Regions from separate parts of the Homo sapiens genome. Here regions 2 and 3 are each linked to region 1. The links are contacts of gene promoters, found by promoter capture Hi-C in human tissues and cell types (Jung and others, 2019). All regions are on one chromosome and are shown on one strand. The core of a region is centred on a gene start or on the middle of the fragment in contact, and the rest is flanking DNA. Distances in the headings are between cores, read along the strand shown. Region 1 holds the start of ADCY9 (adenylate cyclase 9). Region 2 overlaps CREBBP (CREB binding lysine acetyltransferase). Region 3 has its middle 16 kb from the start of GLIS2.

Evidence for each region. The method cuts DNA at HindIII sites, captures the fragments that hold promoters and counts their contacts. A contact is called where the count stands out against the background at its distance.
Region 2: a fragment that was not itself captured here is called in contact with the fragment with the promoter of ADCY9 in region 1 in 1 of the 25 tissues and cell types used here (IMR-90 fibroblasts).
Region 3: a contact is called between a fragment that was not itself captured here and the fragment with the promoter of ADCY9 in region 1, in 1 of the 25 tissues and cell types used here (dorsolateral prefrontal cortex).

What each region holds. Positions count from the first base shown.
Region 1 is chr16:4,115,147-4,117,723 of GRCh38, reverse strand. It overlaps ADCY9 (adenylate cyclase 9), which reads left to right and starts at 1,282. Exons shown (of 11, transcript NM_001116.4): 1 at 1,282-2,034; 2 at 2,239-2,577. The coding sequence starts at 2,282. RefSeq lists a silencer at 1,075-1,144. The HindIII fragment of the contact is 7,185 bases long and covers 1-2,577 here.
Region 2 is chr16:3,863,799-3,866,375 of GRCh38, reverse strand. The region is part of intron 1 of CREBBP (CREB binding lysine acetyltransferase); the gene reads left to right. Among named protein-coding and RNA genes, the nearest start is that of CREBBP, 16 kb to the left of the region's middle. The HindIII fragment of the contact is 4,434 bases long and covers 1-2,577 here.
Region 3 is chr16:4,299,081-4,301,657 of GRCh38, reverse strand. No RefSeq gene overlaps it. Among named protein-coding and RNA genes, the nearest start is that of GLIS2, 16 kb to the left of the region's middle. RefSeq lists a silencer at 2,256-2,550. The HindIII fragment of the contact is 8,673 bases long and covers 1-2,577 here.

The DNA.
Region 1 (2,577 bases), core at 33-2,532:
ACCTCAGGTGATCCGCCCACCTCGGCCTCCCAAAGTGCTGGGATTACAGGCGTGAGCCACCGCTCCCGGCCTAAACCACTTTAAAGTGTATGATTCAAGGGCAGTATGTAGATTCATCCTGTTGGATCATTTCTAGACTTTTTCATCATCCTAAAACGAAACCCCAAGCTGCTTATCTTCCTCCCCTAGCACCTGGCAACCTCCAATCTGTGTCGCCTCTACGGATTTGCCAATTCGAGACATTTCATCTGGATGGAATCATACGCTATGTGGCCTTTTTTGTTTGGCTTCTTTCACTAGCATAACGTTTCCCGGGTTCCTCCACACTGCAGCATGCATCGGTGCTCCATTCCTTTTTGTAGCCGAATAATATTCCATTGCATGGACAGATCACATTTTACTTTTATTTTCTAATTCAACAGTGAGACCTGGTGTGGGCCCCGGCGCTGGGCCTGGGAGGCGAGGGAGGGGATGGAAGAGAGCCCCGTGACTGGCAGGAGGCACTGTGGAGTGTGGGGAGAAGGGGTCGGGATCTGCATGCTAGAGAGAATAGGATTTTATTTACACGTGGCAATGTTTATGGAGGCCAATGCACAACTGCCATTATGGGACGCGGACTCCTTTGAAAGTCTCATTTGTGTAAAAGGAAAAGCAGTAGTTCATGAGGAGGGGGAGAAGGGCTCAAGGACAGCAAGGTAAACTACCCCTGGGGCGGGGGAACGTGGTCGTCGGTGGGCCCAGCTTTGGAGGCTAGGCCCGTGAAGGTCGCCCCGTGAGCAGGTCCAGGGCAGGCCGAGTGCCCCGGGGCCCGCATTCATTGCTTACAGAGCAAGGGGAGCCTCCCGGGAGGGAAATCCAACGGTTGGAAACTTCGATTTATCCCAAAGGCGTGCCGAGTGGGAAGGCAACATTTTGATTTCCCAAACGTTGCGGCCAGCGGCTTCTTCCACGGCAGGCGCCTTCAGGTCTCTCCGCAGGGTCGGGACCCCGGGCGGCGCGCGGCCTCTGGGACGCCGAGGGAGGGCGGGCCCACAGCGCCCGGAGCGCGGACAGCGGCCACAGCCCGCCGCCTAGAAGCGGCGCCGCCCGGGGCGGGGGGCGGAGCCGAGCGCGCGCCCCGCCCCGCCCCGCCCCGCCCCGCAGCCCCAGCCCAGCGCGCGCACCAAGGCGGGGCGGCGCGCGGCCCGTGCGCGTGTCCGGGGCCAGGAGGCGGTGGCGGCGAGCGCGGGCCGCGCGTGCGCGCTGCGGCTGGGCGAGGGGCGGCGCGGGCGCGCGTCTGTCAGTGACAGCGGGCGGGGCAGGGGCCGGAGATGGTGGCGGCGGCAGCTCTTCCGACATGAGGCAGCGGCCGCGGGGGACACGGCGGCGGGCGCGGCGGCGGCCGCATCTCTAGCTCGGGGAGGCGGCCCCCGGCGTGGGCGCGGGCGGGCGGGCGTCCCGGCCGGCGTCGCGGGAGCCCGGCTCTGCGGCAGCGTCTGCACCGCCGCCCGGCGAGGGGCCCGCGTCCGTGGTTCCACGCGCTCGGTCCCGGGACAGCTGCGGCCGCGGCGGGAGCGGCGGCGCACTCGGGGGGAAGCAGGCCCCACTAGACGGGCCGCGCCGACGGGCTCCGCGCACTCGCAGCCCGGGGCGCCCCCACCCCCAGCGCCCGCCGCCGCGGGCAGGGCCGGCCCGGAGCGCGGGGGGCGGCCGGGGAGCGCGAGCCGGGGGCGCCCGCCGAAGCTCGCTGCTCCGGGTCGGGGTCCGGGCCCGGGGCCGGCCGCGCGCCGCCTTTGACGCATCGGAGCGCGGCTCCTGCAGGATGGAGGGCTCCGCGCCGCCAGCGGAGTTGTTTGTGCGCAGGCGGCTCGCGGGGCTGGGAGCGCTCAAGGTCTGAACTTCCCTCCGGAGCCGCAGCTGGAGGAGGCGAGCGCGCGAGGAGGAGAAGCCGCGCGGCGCGGAGGCCACCCTCGGGGCGAGAGGCGCGGAAGGCGAGCGAGCAAAGCGGTCCCGGAGCCACGGCGGCCACGCGGCGGGGACCCCCGGGCGTTCTAGGTCCGTCCCGAGCGGTTCTCGTGCGCCTCGAAGGTGGGGGCGGTGGGGGCGGTGGGAGCACCGCTGAGCCGGGAACCACAGGAACAGATGGTGCCTGTCCAGGTCGCGTGCTGGAGCCGCCCCTTAGGACAGGAGCAGGTCCCGGGCCTCTAGGCGTGCATGCCTAGGTGGGAGCGCCGCTAACTCTCCCCGTTTTGCTGGCAGGTACTGGTGACCCCGGCCGGGGCAGGCCCCGGGACTCGACAACATGGCTTCCCCACCCCACCAGCAGCTGCTGCATCACCACAGCACCGAGGTGAGCTGCGACTCCAGCGGGGACAGCAACAGCGTGCGCGTCAAGATCAACCCCAAGCAGCTGTCCTCCAACAGCCACCCCAAGCACTGCAAATACAGCATCTCCTCTAGCTGCAGCAGCTCTGGGGACTCCGGGGGCGTCCCCCGGCGAGTGGGCGGCGGAGGCCGGCTGCGCAGGCAGAAGAAGCTGCCCCAGCTGTTCGAGAGGGCCTCCAGCCGCTGGTGGGACCCCAAGTTCGACTCGGTGAA
Region 2 (2,577 bases), core at 21-2,520, 250 kb after region 1:
TGATCATCACTTGCTTTGTCACAAGCTCCATTTTTAACATCATCTTTATATTAGAGGTTTCTTCATTGATTTGCTAGAAGCCACAAGACATGACAGCCAACTAATTTTTGAGTATTTTGAAATAATGTCAGATTTCCCTGTGTGAGCGTTGGGTACAAAATGTTACATGTCGATTGTCACATCCCTTTAGAAAAAAATACTTTCGAAAAGTTCTTCTTTAAAGTGCCCTTTTCTTTTCTAGCCTTTTAAGCTTATTTGTACACTAAATATATTTTGAACTAATAGTGAACCCATTTCACATTTTATCCTCAAATCATAAGGACCCTAACTGGAAACTGGAGCACTGGGAACCATTCCAGGTGTTACCACCTGGTGCTGAAGTTAATCACCTGGGCCAGTATATCCCCAGTGGGGGTGCCTTAAAAAAAAATCAGTTTCTTGGCCGGGCGCGGTGGGCTCACGCCTGTAATCCCTGCACTTTGGAAGGCTGAGTTGATGGATCATGAGGTCAGGATATCGAGACCGTCCTGGCCAACATGGTGAAACCCCGTCTCTACTAAAATACAAAAATTAGCCGGGTGTGATGGCGTGCACCTGTAGTCCCAGCCACTCAGGAGGCTGAGGCAGGAGAATTGCTTGAACCCAGAAGGTGGAGGTTGCAGTGAGCTGAGGTCGCGCCACTACATTCCAGCCTGGGCGACAGATCAAGACTCCATCTCAAAAAAAAAAAAAATTAGTTCCTTTAATTACTTAAACTAGTAGTTCATTCACATGGCTCAGAAAACTCAGAGGACAAAACCTGTAGAGAGAGCCTCCCTCCACCTAGCTCCTCCCAGGTAACCACTGGAAGTAGTGCTGTCTTCCAGGGTTTATCTGTATTCAGGCAGACGCTGTTGACTCTTAGTTCTCTCTTCCCCCTTCCTGCCTTTTTCTTCTTAACTGAGGTAGCATAGTGTACACACAGCTGCATACGTTTATTGTCTTCTTACAGTTGTCTACCATTCCATTATGTGACCTGTGCCATAATTGCTTTAATCCTCTCCCCACTGGTGGACATTTAGGTTATTTCCAGTCTTGTCTTCTCACAAACAGTGCTTTAATGAATAGCCTTGTAAAGTTATGCGGACAGGCAAATCTATGGAACAGATTCATAGAAATAGAATTAGTGGTTAAAAGGCATATGCATTTATAGTTTTGATCATAGCAAATTTTCCTTCAAGAGCCTGTGTGTTGGTAGAGTCTTAAAATGTGAAAGGCAGCACATATATTCTCCAGGTATACATTGCTAGATGTGTTGCAGATATTCTTTTTTTTTTTGAGACAGAGTCTTGCTTTGTCGCCCAGGCTGGAGTGCATTGGCACGATCTTGGCTCACTGCAGCCTCCACCTCTCAGATTCAAGTGATTCTGGTGCCTCAGCCTCCTGGGATTACAGGCATGCACTACCATGCCCCGCTAATTTTTGTATTTTTAGTAAAGGAGGGGTTTTGCCATGTTGGCCAGGCTGGCCTCGAACGCCTGACCTCAGGTGACCTGCCTGCCTTGGCCTCCCACAGTGCTGGGATTACAGGTGTGAACCACCATGCCCAGCCACGGATATTCTTTATCAGCATAGTCTATGATGAGTAACACTAAGGTTGTTCTTCAGCTTGTGATTCTCCATCATGTTGTGCTTCTCAGTTGTTTCTGAATTCTCTCATTTTATGGTGTACCTTTTTATTATTATTTTGAGTCAGGGTCTCACTCTGTCACCCAGGATGGAGTGCAGTGACGTGATCTTGACTCACTGTAGCCTCCATCTCCTGGGCTCAAGCAGTCCTCCCACCTCAGCCTCCTGAGCAGCTAGGACTATGGGCATGTGCCACCATGCCTGGCTAATTTTTGTACTTTTTTTTGTAGAGACCGGGTTTCGCTATGTTGCCCAGGCTGGTCTTGAACTACTGGACCCAAGCAGTCCCCCTGCCTCGGCTTCCCAAAGTGCCAGGATTATAGGTGTGAGCCAACATACCTGGTACTGGCATACTTTTTGGACTTAAGGCATTCATTTTCTGTTTGTGGCTCTCAAATAGCCCACACGCCTCCACGCGTTGTACATGGACTGGCACTTCCAAGTCTGCTTTCACGTCTGGAATATGCTCTTTCCCCCTTTCTTGACTTCTTGTTGCCGCCTGCCAGCTACATCTCACAGCATTTGGGGCAAAGGACCTGGTCTCTGGATGTCTGTTTGCTTGTTCTTACAATATGGCTGGGGAATCTGAGGTGGCTGGGAATCTGGGGTCTGGGGCTGCTTCTGCAAAGGCTAGCTCCTAGCTCAGCCCCCACATTCTTCTTCCTCCAGGACTGTTCTTGGCTGGAGAATCCTCTCCCTGTAAGCAGGGTGGATAGGCAGCTGACTGTAGCACCTCTCCGGGGTCTGGTGCCCCTCTCAGCTGTGGTGGTGGTAAACAACCCGTTTTTGCTCCCCTGTCCCAGATGATTGGGCTAACGTGCAGGGGCTGCTGGGTCATTACTGTGTTCTGGTGGCAGCTGGCTGCTATGACAGGCACCTTCCATTCCACCCTTGTCCCCACCCTTCAGG
Region 3 (2,577 bases), core at 34-2,533, 180 kb before region 1:
ACACAGGACGCATGTTGTGTGTTTCTGTTCATATGAAATTTCCAGAATAGGCAAATCCATAGAGACTGGAAGTAGATTAAGGGCCAGGGGCAGTGGCTTACGTCTACAGGCATGAGCAGTTTGGAAAGCTGGGGCAGGAGGATCACTTGAGACCAGGAGTTCAAGACCAGCAGTTCAAGACCAGCCTGGGCAACAGAGTGAGACCCCTATCTCTAAAAAAAAATAAAGTTAGCTGAGTGTGGTGGCGCCCACCTGTAGTCCCAGCTCCACGGGAGACTGAGAGGAGAGGACTGCTTGACCCTGAGAGGTAGAGGCTACAGTGAGCTATGATCAAACCACTGAACTCCAGCCTGGGCAACACAGTGAGACTCTGTCTCTAAAAATAAATAAATAAAAAGATAGGGTAGCTTAGGGGTTGCCTGGGGCCTGGGGTGGTGGTGAGCATCGGGGAGTGACTGCTAAGTGGAGTTTCTTTTTGGGTTAATGAAAATATTCCAAAATTGGTCAGTTGCAGTGGCTCATGCCTGTAATCCAAGCACTTTTAGGAGGCCAAGGCACGTGGATCACTTGAGGTTAGGGGTTCGAGACCAGCCTGGCCAACGTGATGAAACTCCGTCTCTACTAAAAATACAAAAAAATCTAGCTGGGCCCGGTGGTGCTCACCTATAGTCCCAGCTACTTGGGAGGCTGAGGCGGGAGAATCGCTTGAACCCGGGAGACAGAGGTTGCAGTGAGCCGAGATCATGCCACTGCACTCCAGCCTGGGTGACAGAGTGAGACTCCGTCTTGAAAAAAAAAGAAAAAGAAAATATTCCAAAATTGCAGTTATAGATGCACAGATCTGTGGATATTTAAAAACAACTGAATCATCTACTGTGGTGTAATTGTAAAGTGGTGAATTATATGGATTATATCTCAATAAAGGTCTTTTTTTTTCTTTTTTTTTTTTTTTTTTTGAGACGGTATCTTGCTCTGTCGCCCAGGCTGGAGTGCAGTGGCACAATCTCGGCTCACTACAAGCTCCACCTCCCAGGTTGGTGGACATTCTCCTGCCTCAGCCTCAGCCTCCCGAGTCGCTGGGACTACAGGTGCCTGCCACAATGTCTGGCTAATTTTTTGTATTTTTAGTAGAGACGGGGTTTCACCGTGTTAGCCAGGATGGTCTCGATCTCCTGACCTCGTGATGCGCCCACCTCGGCCTCCCAAAGTGCTGGGATTACAGGTGTGAGCCACTGCACCCGGCCTCACCAAAGGTCTTATTAAAAAAATTAGCCAGATTCCCTGCTTCAGTGATAAAAAAAAAAAAAAAAAAGAGGGGCAGGAGAAGAGGACCCAATAACTTCCTGAGTGACTGGGGAAAATATTTTTGGGTTATATTTCTGTAATTCTCGTGAAGTGATTACAGAAGTGACGGGATAGAAGAGGTTTCTTTAAAAAAAATTTTTTTTTTAATTTAGTAGAGATGGGATCTTGCTATATTGCCCAGGCTGGTCTTGAACTCCTGGACTCAAGCAGTCCTCCTGCCTGGGCCTCCCGGAGCTCCCGGGTTACAGGTGTGCAATCCCATGACCAGCCGATAGAGGACGTTTCTATTCATCCTTCAGACCTCAGCTTACAAGTTACCCCAAGATAAGCCTCCCCCACCCCATAACCCTCCCTCTGTCACTTTGTCACGTGTCTGAGCCCTTGTTTCTTCCTTTTTTTTTTTTGAAATGAAGTCTTGTTCTGTCGCCAGGCTGGAGTGCAATGGCGTGATCTCGGCTCACTGCAATCTCTGCCTCTTGGGTTCAAGCGATTCTCCTGCCTCAGCCTCCCGAGTTGCTGGGATTACAGGCACATACCACCACACCCAGCTAATTTTTGTATTTTTAATAGAGACGGGGTTTCACCATGTTGGCCAGGGTGGTCTCCATCTCCTGACCTCATGATCTGCCAGCCTTAGCCTCCCAAAGTGCTGGGATTACAGGCGTGAGCCACCGCGCCAGGCCTGTTTCTTCCTTTTATAGCTCTTCCCACACTTGGAATTCTTTTCTGCCTCTGGACCTGATTTTGTTGGGCTCTTGCCCAGCTGAGTTCCGTGAGGTTCGGGGCTTGTCTGTATCTTGTCTGCCACATCATAGGTGCTCAGTGCACACCTGTTGAGTGGATGCACCATAGATATATTGATAACAGCTGTGAGCGGTTGGGAGCGAGTGAGCAGAGCAGGGCTGCTCAGGGTGTCTCCAGCCCTAGTGGCTTTCTCTCTGTTCCAGTTCCAGGAGAAAGTCTCTGGAAAGGAAGCCCGAAGTCGGGTCTGGCTGGGAAGAGGTGGGGGCTGGGGCGGGTGCCGGGTGCTGGGGCTGGGAGGAAGTCTGCAGCCAGGCTGCTGAGGGTGTGGCGTCTGTGTGTGCACCTTTGGAATGTGGCTGATTCACTCTGAGGGGAGCCATATGCTGCCGCCACCGCCTCGGATCTGACATCTGGAGGCTGAATTCCAGGAGGAGAGAGACAGATTCCTGCAAGCAGATGCCAACTTTGAAGGTCAAAGGGAGCAATGGAACTGCTTTGAGGGGGGTGAGAGGGTCCAACACTCCCTCC